Regions from separate parts of the Homo sapiens genome. Here all the other regions are linked to region 2. Evidence: promoter capture Hi-C in 16 types of primary human blood cells and fetal thymus (Javierre and others, 2016). All regions are on one chromosome and are shown on one strand. Each heading gives the region's core, a stretch centred on a gene start or on the middle of the fragment in contact. The rest is flanking DNA. Distances are from core to core; before and after follow the strand shown.

What was found. The method cuts DNA at HindIII sites, captures the fragments that hold promoters and counts their contacts. A CHiCAGO score of 5 or more calls a contact.
Region 1: a fragment that was not itself captured here is called in contact with the fragment with the promoter of DPH5 in region 2 in 15 of 17 cell types (activated CD4 T cells, non-activated CD4 T cells, total CD8 T cells and 12 more); the score reaches 21.5 in activated CD4 T cells.
Region 3: a contact is called between a fragment that was not itself captured here and the fragment with the promoter of DPH5 in region 2, in 15 of 17 cell types (naive B cells, activated CD4 T cells, naive CD4 T cells and 12 more). The highest score is 18.9, in naive B cells.
Region 4: a contact is called between a fragment that was not itself captured here and the fragment with the promoter of DPH5 in region 2, in 13 of 17 cell types (activated CD4 T cells, non-activated CD4 T cells, megakaryocytes and 10 more). The highest score is 11.9, in activated CD4 T cells.

The regions. Positions count from the first base shown.
Region 1 is chr1:101,265,344-101,268,088 of GRCh38, reverse strand. No RefSeq gene overlaps it. Among named protein-coding and RNA genes, the nearest start is that of S1PR1, 30 kb to the right of the region's middle. The HindIII fragment of the contact is 7,306 bases long and covers 1-2,745 here.
Region 2 is chr1:101,024,524-101,027,459 of GRCh38, reverse strand. It overlaps DPH5 (diphthamide biosynthesis 5), which reads left to right and starts at 1,676. Exons shown (of 8, transcript NM_015958.3): 1 at 1,676-1,777; 2 at 1,994-2,151. The coding sequence starts at 2,017. DPH5-DT (DPH5 divergent transcript) reads right to left here and starts at 1,614. Exons shown (of 5, transcript NR_109849.1): 1 at 1,399-1,614. RefSeq lists enhancers at 1,745-1,854, 947-2,146. The HindIII fragment of the contact is 3,765 bases long and covers 1-2,542 here.
Region 3 is chr1:101,244,309-101,247,276 of GRCh38, reverse strand. No RefSeq gene overlaps it. Among named protein-coding and RNA genes, the nearest start is that of S1PR1, 8.8 kb to the right of the region's middle. RefSeq lists a silencer at 1,678-1,878. The HindIII fragment of the contact is 565 bases long and covers 1,113-1,677 here.
Region 4 is chr1:101,185,614-101,188,670 of GRCh38, reverse strand. No RefSeq gene overlaps it. Among named protein-coding and RNA genes, the nearest start is that of S1PR1-DT, 49 kb to the left of the region's middle. The HindIII fragment of the contact is 2,056 bases long and covers 520-2,575 here.

The DNA.
Region 1 (2,745 bases), core at 56-2,555, 240 kb before region 2:
TTAACCTCGGAAAAACTATTATGATGAACAGCAGCTGGGCCTGCTCTAATTTGTGATTTGGTAAGTCCCACCTCTGACATTTCCAGCAAATTTGGGGTCAGTCATGGGCCCGAATGACAGAACTGCTTGCACCACAGCCTTGCTTTAGTGGACAGCTTTTTCCTGCTCTGGGCCTCACTCAAAGCTAGTGGTACTTCTAGGTGTATAGTGTGTTATCTTATACACCCACAAATGAAAGATGCCTGTCACACACTGAGCTTCCTTCTTTGTGATAAGGGATGCAAGATGTGCCTCTTAATTTGAAGGGGATAGTCCAATGTTCCCCAGACTACTAGATCCATACAAACTACATCAAAGTGAGAGGTCAATAAATCTTCATAGTGTTTATCTTGCAAGTGTCTTATGAAGTCTTCTAGAGTATTATCCAGTCGGCATAATGTCATTGATGGAATGAATCAATATGACTTGTAGCGAAATTTCAAGAAGATCCAAATATCTTCAGATTATATTGTGGTAAAAGGAAGAGGGTCAGCATAGCCCTGGATCAAAGCTGCAGTTGAATATTACTCACATCACATGAATGCAAATTATCTCTAATCTTCTTTCTAATTGGAATAGAAAAGAATCCATTTCCCAAATCAATGACCACACACCACGTACCTGAAATCTCATTAACCTATTTTATCTCATTTATCTAGCAATAAAACCACATCCAGCACAGTAGCTACAACTGGGGCTATCACTTGTTTGAGCTGTGGTTTTCTGCTGTTATTCTCCAGAATCACCCAGTTTCTGCAGGATCCAGACTGGTGCTGCTAAATGAGGATATGAGAGTGAGTAGTGACCACCATCCCTGCATTTTTAGATCTTTAATAGTAGCATTAATCTCTGCTATTCCTCTACTCCAGGGTGCAATTTTTCTCCATTTGCTGCCTTGGCTGGGGGAAGGGGTGTATGGACGGTTTCAAGAGGTTTCCACTTGGCCTTCTCCACTATGATATGGCCTTCCCCACAGGTCAATGATACAAAGTGGGGTTCCTCTGACTGCCAGTATGTCAATCCTAGTTATGCACTTAGAGATTTGAGAAAGGATCACTGGGGGTGTCTATGGACCCACCGTAGCTAGAATTTACACAGGCATTTATTTGTTACCTGGCCTCATCAAACTCCAATCTCACGGGGGCAGAAGGAGGACCATGATGACACTGTGTCTCTGGAGATGAATCAAATTAGACAATGTGTCCTTTTTTTGGGGCAGGGACTTCTGAATTAAGATGATCCTTCAGTGCTATCCCAAGTTGAGGTGAGAGAGTGGTGCCTTTGTACCCCTACTGGATCAGTCATTAGGTGTTAGCTGCCCTGAAGAGGCCTTATCTCTGAATATGTTTGCCCAAGATTCCCAGCACCATAGCTATTAACTCCTTGTTCCTGAAGGGACATTTGGGCAATGGATCACAGTATCTACTACAGGAATGTCCTTAGAAACAATGTCTGTAAGAGAGTAAAAAAGCATGATTGGGCGGAGGGAGAAGTTGAAGTGTGATGCAGTTGTAACAGAGTCCTCAGCAAATCCAGGGAGCTCTGGAACTGGCATGACCCTTCAGAGTTGTCCTGAACTCTTGTACTCTTTGTACCAGAGTTTGTACTCTTGCTTCAACCAGCATTGAATGCAGGCTGCCCATCAAAAAGGGATATAAAGCCGGTTGCCGTGGCTCATGCCTGTAATCCCAGAACATCAGGAGGCTGAAGAGAGCAGAGATCATTTAAGGCCAGGAGTTCGAGACCAGCCTGGCCAACATGGTGAAACCCCATCTCTACTAAAAATACAAAAATAATCTGGGCATGGTGACACATGCCTGTAGTCCCAGCTACTCAAAAGGCTGAGGCACCAGAATCAGTCGAACCCTGGAGGCAGAGTTTGCACAGAGCTGAGATGGCACCGCTGCACTCCAGCCTGGGTGACCCTGTCTAAAAAAGAGTGAGACCCTGTTTAAAAAAAAAAAAAAAAGGAAAGAAAGAGAGAAGTAGAAAAAGAAAAAGGGATATATAATCTTAAACCGAGGACAATGCTCAAGGAGGGAATCCTTGTGAGCTGCCAACAGTCAATACTCTCAACAGTTGGGAAAATGAATGCCTTAGTCTTAGAGGGAGTCTCTGGGTGGTGTACCACAATCTCCATAACAGGAATCAGCAGCATATAGACACTAACTCATGCCATGAATACGGATGAGATCATTAGGGAGAAAATATGGAGAGTAAAGAGAAGAGCATCCAGAACCTAGCCCTAAATCAAACCAAACCAGTAGAAGTCAGTTAGAGGACAGCTGGCAAAAAGAGATGGAGAAAGAGCAATCAGCATGCTAGGAGAAAATCCAGGAGAACAAAGTGTAACTGAAGTCAGAAAAGATAGAATTATCTACCAAGTGGAATAATACTGAAGGGCTAACAAATAAAAGACAAAAAACATGTCCATTGTTTTGTCAATATGAAGTCCACTGGTAATTTTGAGCAAAAATTATTTTAGCAAATGCAATACACAGAAGCCAGATTACAGTGTGTTGAAGGATGAAATGGAGTTCAGGCAGTGAAGACAGCATACATATTTATACAACTTTTTTAGTTTTACTGTACAAGGGAACATAAAAATGGGGGGAGGTGGTAGCTGAAGGGAAATAAGGGTTTACAGAGGATTCTAGGTCTTTTTGTTTATTTATGCTTGCTTCTTAATTTGGTATCTATTAGAGT
Region 2 (2,936 bases), core at 427-2,926:
AAAAGCAAAATGGAAAGGGAAGGTGATGGATTCAACCTTGGATGTGTTGAATATGCTTCCGGGTTATCTAGGTGAAGATTTCCAGCAGAACGTTAACATGAAGCCAAGAGGGAGGAAGTCTGGATAGGAGGCTGAAATTTGAATCTACAAAATATTAGCGATACTAGGAATTCTGAGTGAACAGCCAGTTTTTGTGAGGTTTTGTTTGTTTTACTTAAGCCATTCTAATAGGTGGGTTGTGGTAGCTCATTGTGATTTAAATGTTTATTTTCCTAATGTCTAATGATGTTTAGGATCTTTTTTTGTTTGTTTAAGATCTTTTAAAATAATTATTTGCTATTTGTGTATCTTCTTTGGTGTCTATTCAAATCTTTTGCCCATTTTTAAACAACGAACTGTTTTATTATTGCTTTCTGAGTGCTCCTTATATATTCTCCATACAAGTCCTTCATCAGATACATGCTTTGTAAATATTTTCAGTATGTGGCTTCAAGTCTTTTGAAGAGCATAAATTTTTACTTTGTTGAAGTCCAATTTATCAATTTTTTTCATCACGCTTTTGGTTTAAGAAATATTTGCCTAAATAAGGTCACGAATATTTCCTCCTATGTTTTCTTCTGGTATAGGTTTAGGTTTTCCATTTACATCTACGATCCATTTTGAGTTTTTTGGGGTGTGTATGTGGTGTGAGGAATAGATCAACGTAATGAGAGGGGATAAAACACAGCCACGAAGAGTTTATAGATAGGAAGTGCAAAAAGGTGGATGGAACCTGGGAATGAAAAAAAGCCAAGGTTCAAGGAAGCGGAGTTGGGCATTGTCGGGGAGGCAACAGGAAAATTCTGAGTAACCAACACTGCCTGCTAAGAAAAGCAATGACAGCTGTCTTTTTTAACTTGGATGAGGTCACCTTGGGAAGAGCATTTTCAGTCAAAACAAATCTTCCCTATTTCTAATTACATGTAACCAACAGCTTTATAAGAATTCCCCCGGCAGAAACACTTGAGAGGTCTGAAATCCCTGAGCACTATTAAAGGTCACTTCTTTAGGTACAGGAAGGTCTGGGATTCCTGACACTGAGGGTGACTGAAACATCCTTGGGGCACTCCAGGCATAAGGTCTTGGGGACAAACCCAAGGAGTCATTGCCTTGTTGGGAAATCAGAAGCACACTCACTGCTGGGTTTGCCAATCTCACGCTTCACCAGGAAGACACCTAGTTGAACTACAGGAGGATGAGAAGACTGGAATTAAAATCTGTGCACTCGGCCAAATCCGGGGACAAATCAGGAAAATCCTTCCCAGCCCTCCCTGTTTCTGGAGAGGAGGAGTAGGGCGCAGGGCCCCTCCCGACTCTCTTCCACGTGGCTCCTCTCGAGCGAAGAGCTACTGCACTTACCCAGGCTTAGGAAGCGGGTGTTTAAGCCATGGGTTAGAGGGCTCGTGAGCACGCCCGATCCTTTCCCTGAGGCTATGAAACGGTGGCTCCACGGACTCCTCTCGGCCGACTGACCTTTCGCCGCCCTGCCCCAGCAGCCGGCGGGTTTCTTCAGTGGAGCCGGGCTCTGGTCTCCGCAGCCCAGTAGCCCGCTAGCCCGGCCCCCTCCCGCTAGTCGTAAAGTGCAGTAAAGGCACCAGCATTTTGCGGCACCGTAGGTGAGGCCGGCGGCGTGGGCCTTTTCTCTGCACGGAGCCGGCGCTTTTGCAGTTGCTTCTGCGGAAAGGTGGTAGTTAAGAATTTGTAAAGGCCAGAGAACTACCTACGATTCTCTCAGCGGGTAATTGGCTGCTCCTAGGTTTGTGTAACAAGAGGCAAAACTGGTAGGGTTGTTTAAAACCTCTTATCCCAGTTCTTAAGCGTGACATAAGGTTCCCAAACCCCTCCTTGTGACTTGCCTCTTCTCTTGTGCTACTTTGGTTGTCATCGTGTTCATCACTAGATTTTAGATGTCCTCGGTGTTACTGACGGTTTTTCTGTCCACTTCGTCTTGCAGTCTCTCTTCTCCTCAAGTTTGAAATGCTTTATCTCATCGGGTTGGGCCTGGGAGATGCCAAGGACATCACAGTCAAGGGCCTGGAAGTTGTTAGACGCTGCAGTCGAGTGTATCTGGAAGCCTACACCTCAGTCCTAACTGTAGGGAAGGAAGCCTTGGTAGGTGCTGAGCGTTCCCCAGCCTCCTGGGAAGAAAGCTATCTAACATCTGATTTTCATACACTAAGCTGAACAGAATTTTCAGGTCTGCTTGTTTAAACCCTTTGAAACGCATCCCTTGTTCATTAATGATCTGAGGAGCAGAAGAATGGAAATTTTACACCAACCAAGTGACTTGGAAAATGAAAGGGTGCTTTGTCCTATTTTACAAGTCTAATTTTGTGGCTTTCTCCAGTAAATAGGAAAGCTATTTTATACTCCTGGGGGATAGTTATCAAAACCCCTTATTTCATGAGGTAGTCAAGAAACCCTTTCTGAGTTGAGTGCTAATGAGGAGCTGACACAGCCTTAATGAGTTGGTTATATATATTCAAAAACCAAGCTGAAAGCTTCCCCCTTTGAAGTGTGTCCATAGGGAATGGCGATTGCCTTTTTGTATCCTATCCAGAGAGATCTTATCTTAAATAGACTATCTCCCAATAAGGCTTATACTGATACACTTGTATATATTGAGTGAGCCTGGACTTAATATATAAAAATGTATGAGTATACACTTACATGAGTATACACTAAGTAACCAAAGTATTTGTTAGTATATTATACATTTATAGTTGGCCCTCATAAGGGCCCAGTAAATTTGGGGGAAGGGTCAACTTCAGGTTCATTGTCAAACTCTAAGTAGAATGTAAATCAAAGGATTAATACATATGTTATGGGAGGAGGGAGCAGATTTATTGTCATGTCTTCCAAACAAAAAATAGACTTAAAATTTTTAGGCCTCAGAT
Region 3 (2,968 bases), core at 146-2,645, 220 kb before region 2:
GACTAGATGCTGAAAAATAGAATACAAATACTGATATTTACAACACCACCCAATAACACAAGGAACTTCTCTCCATTCCAAATATGAGTTTATTCTTCATTATTTAATTTTAAGTAATTTAGAGATATAAATTAAATAAAAGCCAATGATGAAAAGCTGCCAATATTAATTGTATTTGTTAAATGAAATTATTTTAGACTGCTAAAGAACTCAATATATTAGAGGAAGTGTACAACAATGAACAAACTCATGGGAAAAAAAGAACTGTTTCTTGGCTGGGTGCCGTGATGCACGTCTATAATCCCAGCACTTTGAGAGGCCGAGGCAGGTGGGTCGCTTGAGCCCAGGAGTTCGAGACCAGCCTGGCCAACGTGGTGAAACCCCGTCTCTACTAAAAACAGAAAAATTAGCCTGGCGTAGTGGCACACGCCTGTAATCTCAGCTACTCATGAGGCTGAGGCAGGAAAATCGCTTGAACCTGAGAGGCAGAAGTTGCAGTGAGCCGAGATCGCATCACTGCACTCCAGCCTGAGCGACAGAGTGAGACTCCGTCTCAAAAAAGGAAAAAAAAGAAAGAATTTTGTCTTGCCATATCAAGGTCCCTGGACCCCAAAGAGAGGGAGCCACAGGAGTGCCAGAGCTGAAGGAATGAATCCTGTGAGCTCTAGGAAGGCAGAACCTCTGTTTATATTTGCCCCTAGATCCACAGCACAGAGCACAGGGCAAGCATTCTTGTTGAGTGGATGAGTGGGTAAGTTTGCCGACCTATCAAGAGGAATGGGAGTAGGAAGCATGACCCACACCAGTAACTTTTTCCAAGGTTTTTCTTTCTGCCCTGGTATCAACAAAGCAGCAGAAAAGTGGAGTAATAATAGTAGTAGAGCTCTGGGGAAATGGATAAACAATTTCCTACGTCTCCCTGCTCCTTGTTAGCTGAGGTAACCATGCCCCCTCTTCCCTGTTTCTATTTCTGCTTTGTATCTAATCAGTCTGTCCAAGGAGCAGTGCAGCACCTGAGGCATTTCTTCTCTGTCCAGTTACTCCCAGAGATGGCTGAAAGAAAGACCCCTCAGACAGGGGAATGCAGGTAACAATGTGTCTGGCTGCAAGCTTATAAAACTCACAGGATGGGTACACGTGGACATAGAGATGGAAACAGGCTGGTCATGATGGCTCACGCCTGTAATTCTAGCACTTTGGAAAACCAAGGTGGAAAGATTGCTTGAGGTAAGGAGTGTGGCAACAGCCTAGGCAATAAAGTGAGACCCTGTCTCTACAAAAATAAATAATTAGCCAGGTGTGGTGGCACACACCTATAGTCCCAGCTACTCTGGAAGCTGAGACGGGAGGATTGCTTGAGCCTAGAAGTTCCAGGTTGCAGTGAGCTATGGTCACACCACTCCCCTCCAGCATGGGCAACAGAGTGAGACCCTCCAAAATAAATAAATAAGGGAACAATAGACACCGGTGTCTACTAGAAGGGAGAGAGAGGGAGGGGGACAATGGCTAATAAACTAGTTGTTGGGTACTATGCTCACTACCACAGTGATGGGATCATTCACACCCCAAACCTCAACATCACAGCAATATGCCTATGTAACAAACCTGCACATGTTCCCCTTGAATCTAATATAAAAGCTGAAATTATTAAAAAATAGATCCACAGGAACATAAGCTTGTCTTCCATATCCTTTGTGCTCTGCTATCTCTTCTAACAATGCAGTGCTTACACCCAGGGCGAGTGTTATTATCTGAATGAATGCCTTTTATAGGTTTGGTCAGGTGGCCATGATAAGAAATTGGCACACTCCAATTTGTATGTCTCCAGTACTAATATGTTTACATATCCTTGCAATGTATACAAGGTCCATTCTTCATAAGGCTATTTACAACCCATCATATATTCCTAAAACTGAAATCCAAATGTCAATAAACTTTTATTGTGACAGTTTCATTACATCTCTAGACTCTTTCAAGACACAGAAATTCTTCAGGGATTACAAATACCAATACTAAGCCAAATTCTCATCCTATGGAAGCAAAGAGTATCATCATGTCACAATTATTTAGCATTCTAAAGTTTTATTTCTGGGTCATGGGATAATACTTAAAAAGCGTATTTCCCTTTTATGAAACACTTTGGAACCTTTTCCACATTCTTTTTTTTTTTTTTTTTTTTTTTTTTGAGACAGGATCTCACTCTGTCACCCAGGCTGGAGTTGGAATGCAGTGGCCGGATCTCGGCTCACTGCAACCTCCACTTCCTGGACTCAAGTGATTCTCCAGACTTAGCCATCCAAATAGCTGGGGCTACAGGTGTGAGCCATCATGCTCAGCTAATTTTTTTTGTATTTTTTGTAGAAACGGGTGTTGCCATGTTGCCCAGGCTGATCTTGAACTCCTGAGCTCAAAGCTATCCTCCTGCTTCGGCCTCCCAAAGTGCTGGGACTACAGGCGTGAGCCACTGTGCACGGCTGCCACTTTCTACTGAACTTCATGGAACCTTCCCACAATTTCACAGAGAAAGTCTCATATAGTCCTTATACTCAGAAGTGAAAGTCTAGCATATTGATATTTTTAAATTTCACTGGTCTTAAGAATATGATTACATAAGTTTAGACAAATATACACATCTGAGTGAACAAGGTCCTAAAAATTAAGATAAAGAGCTTTGCTAACAACCTAGAAAGTTCCCTCGTGTTCCTTTCCAGTTTATCCTCTTACCCCAGGCAACCACTGTGCAGATTTATACCTCCATATATTAGTTTTGCCTATTCTGGAACTTTTACATAAAGGAAATCATGACGTATGTTCTCTTTTGTGGTTGCATAAGAGGTTTAAAATTCATGAAAACGGTTGCAAGATTAGTAGTAGGTCCTTTTTTGTTGCTGAATAATATTCCATTGTATTAATTTACCATGGTGTATTTATCCATTACTGATATGGAAGCTTCTGGTTGGATATATGA
Region 4 (3,057 bases), core at 298-2,797, 160 kb before region 2:
AATTTCTAATCATATAGTCTGAGGTTTGACAGTTCATGGCTACTTCTATTGACTTCTCACAGATTCACATAACTCAATCAATCAAGTATTTATTAAGCATCAGTTCTGTACTTAGCACTGACTTGGGGAATGTAAATAAAAAGAGAAGAGTACAAATGTGGTTTGTGGCTGGCTGTGGTGGCTCATGCCTGTAATCCTAGCAATTTTGGAGGCTGAGTCAGAAGGATCACTTGGGGCCAGGAGTTCAAGACCAGTCTGGGCAACAGAGTGAGACCTCATCTCTAGCAAAAATAAAAATAAATTAGCTGGGTGTGGTGGTGCACACCTGTGGTCCCAGCTACTTGGAAGGCTGAGGTAGGAGGATCACTTGAGCCCTGAAGTCGAGGCTGCAGTGAACTATGCTCAGTGTCACTGAACTCCAGCCTATCTCCAAAAAAAAAACAAAACGTGGTTTGTTGTTGTGGAATGTACATTTAACTTAGAGCGAAAACACTGATAGACACAAGGCAATAGCAAGCTTCTCAGTGGTGCTGAGTATTTAAAGCCCATTAGAAATTTAAAAATTGTAACAGGTGTTGTTGTATTATAAATTTACATAACACTTAATGAAAGAAATTAATTTATATTTTATGCAATTCATAAAGGATCCAGTTTATGGATTGAGTTTCTAGATTAGGAATCTATATGAATATGAATGAGTATCAGTTTCTTATTAAAACGTAGCAGAAGATGACCCATTTTACCAGCCTGACCAATATGGTGAAACCTCATCTCTAATAAAAACACAAAAATTAGCCAGGAGTGGTGGTGGGCACCTGTAGTCCCTGCTACTCAGGAGGCTGAGACAAGAGAATTGCTAGAACCCAGGAGGTGGAGGTTGCAGTGAGCCAAGATTGCGCCACTGCACTCCAGCCTGGGGGACAGAGTGAGACTCCAGCTCAAAAAAAAAAAAATAGATGAACCGTTTTAGAGATTATGACTATTAGAATAACATAGTCTCTATTGCATTTTTTTTAAAAAAAAAAAAAACCCATATATCTGTGTTTTACCTAACTACCAGCATCTTTTCAAGTTGATCTGCTTTTCTAAGAACTAATAGGGAAGAACATTTTTTAAAAAATCATTTTTTAAAGGGCCCACAGGAAGCTGCCTGCTTAGTCACTCCTCAGAGTAAGCCTCACCCTTCCACATTTTGTTTACTCTTTCTGCTTTCCCTATTTATTGTTTTAAATTGAATTTCCATTCCTCTAGTGAGCACCATGTTCCAAGAAAAGCTGGGAAATTCAGTTTATATACACAGTACTGACTTAGCAGTAGGAATATAAAAATTTAATTTATTATTCAAATTAATAATATGTCATATGATACAATGAAAAAGAATTCAATGGGAGAACTAAAGAGCTAGGCATGTAGACTTAGGGGACAACCCTGAAAGGGTGCTGGTGCTCTTCTGTAGCCCATCTGTACGGTGTGGTGGAATGAAAAGAGCCAACAATTTGTCTTAGGACTTTTGCAGGGGGTGGTATGAAGAAAAGAGTCAGATAGAGCTGGGTGTGGTGGCTCATACATGTAATCCCAGCACTTTGTGAGGCCAAGGCAGGAGGATCACTTGAGGCCAGGAGTTGGAGATCAGCCTTGGCAATATAGTAAGAGCCTATCTCTACAAAAAAAAAAAAAAAATGCTGCATGCAGTGGCATGTGCCTGTAGTCCCAGCTACTCGGGGGGCTGAGATGGGAGGATCTCTTGAGCCCAGGAGTTTGAGGTTGCAGTGAGCTATGATTGTACCACTGCATTTCCAGCCTGGGTACAGAGCAAGACCTTTTCCAAAAAGAAAGAGAGAGAGAGAGAGAGGAAGGAAGGAAAGAAGGGAGGAAGGAAGGAAGTAAGGAGAAAAAGAGGAGGGAGGGAGGGATGGGGAGAAAGAGAAAGAAGAAGGAAAGAAAAGATAAAAGAAAAGAAGAAAGAAAGAAAGAAAGTATTAGTTCATTCTCACATTGCTGTAAAGAACTGCTTGATACTGAGAAGTTTATTAAGAAAAGAGGTGTAATTGACTTGCAGTTCCATGTGGCTGGGGGACACCTCGGGAAACTTACAGTCATGAAGGAAGGAGAAGCAGGCACATCTTACATGGTGGCAGGTGAGAGAGATGGTGTGTAAGCACAGGAAAAACTACCATATATGAAACCATCAGATCTTGTGAGAATTTACTCACTATCACGAGAACAGACCCCATATGGGGGAGAAACCACCCCCATAATCCAATCACTTCCCACCACGTCTCCCCCTCAACACCTGGGGATTAAAATTCAAGATGAGATTTGTGTGAGGACACCAAGCCAAATCATATTAGAAAGAAGAGAGAGAGAAAGGAGAGAAAGAAAGAATCAGACAGAATTCCTTTCTGAGATATATTTTTTTAAAACTGACATGACCTATGTCATTACCTTGGTTTAACTGGCATTTAAAAATTATACTATGCTATTACTATTTCTATTTCTTGCAGCTAAGCTCTATTGTTTCTTAGCTACAAACTATGAGGAAAACATACGAGGAAATCCCAGGAAGAATTAAGCTTTCAATTTTCTTTTAATTTCTTTGCTCGCAAATAAAATCAGCGTTAAAGCCTCTAGAAGAAAATCAGTACTGGTCATATACTGTTTAGGTAAGTCAAATGATATACATATTTATCTAGAAACCAAAAGTTCATTTTACTATTTTCCATACTAGAGTTTCAAAGGATCTTAGAATATTTTTCAAATAGTTGCAAATTTAGGTAGGTGCATACACTCAGGGGTAAAACATCAATGAGGTTGTCTGGTTACTGAACTGAAGAACTACATTTTTAAAAAATTATTTGAAAAATTAACAGATCCAAGTTAAAATATACAAAAAGGATCTTTAAAAACACTGTCAGAAGTAAGAAAACTAGACAAAACATTTGGCAAGTAAAAGAAAACTTGAGCTATAACCCATACAAACCTCCCTGCTGCCATAATATTCCCAGCTAGCACAAGATAACAGGATTCCATTCTTGTGATGTATCGGAGTTAATACAT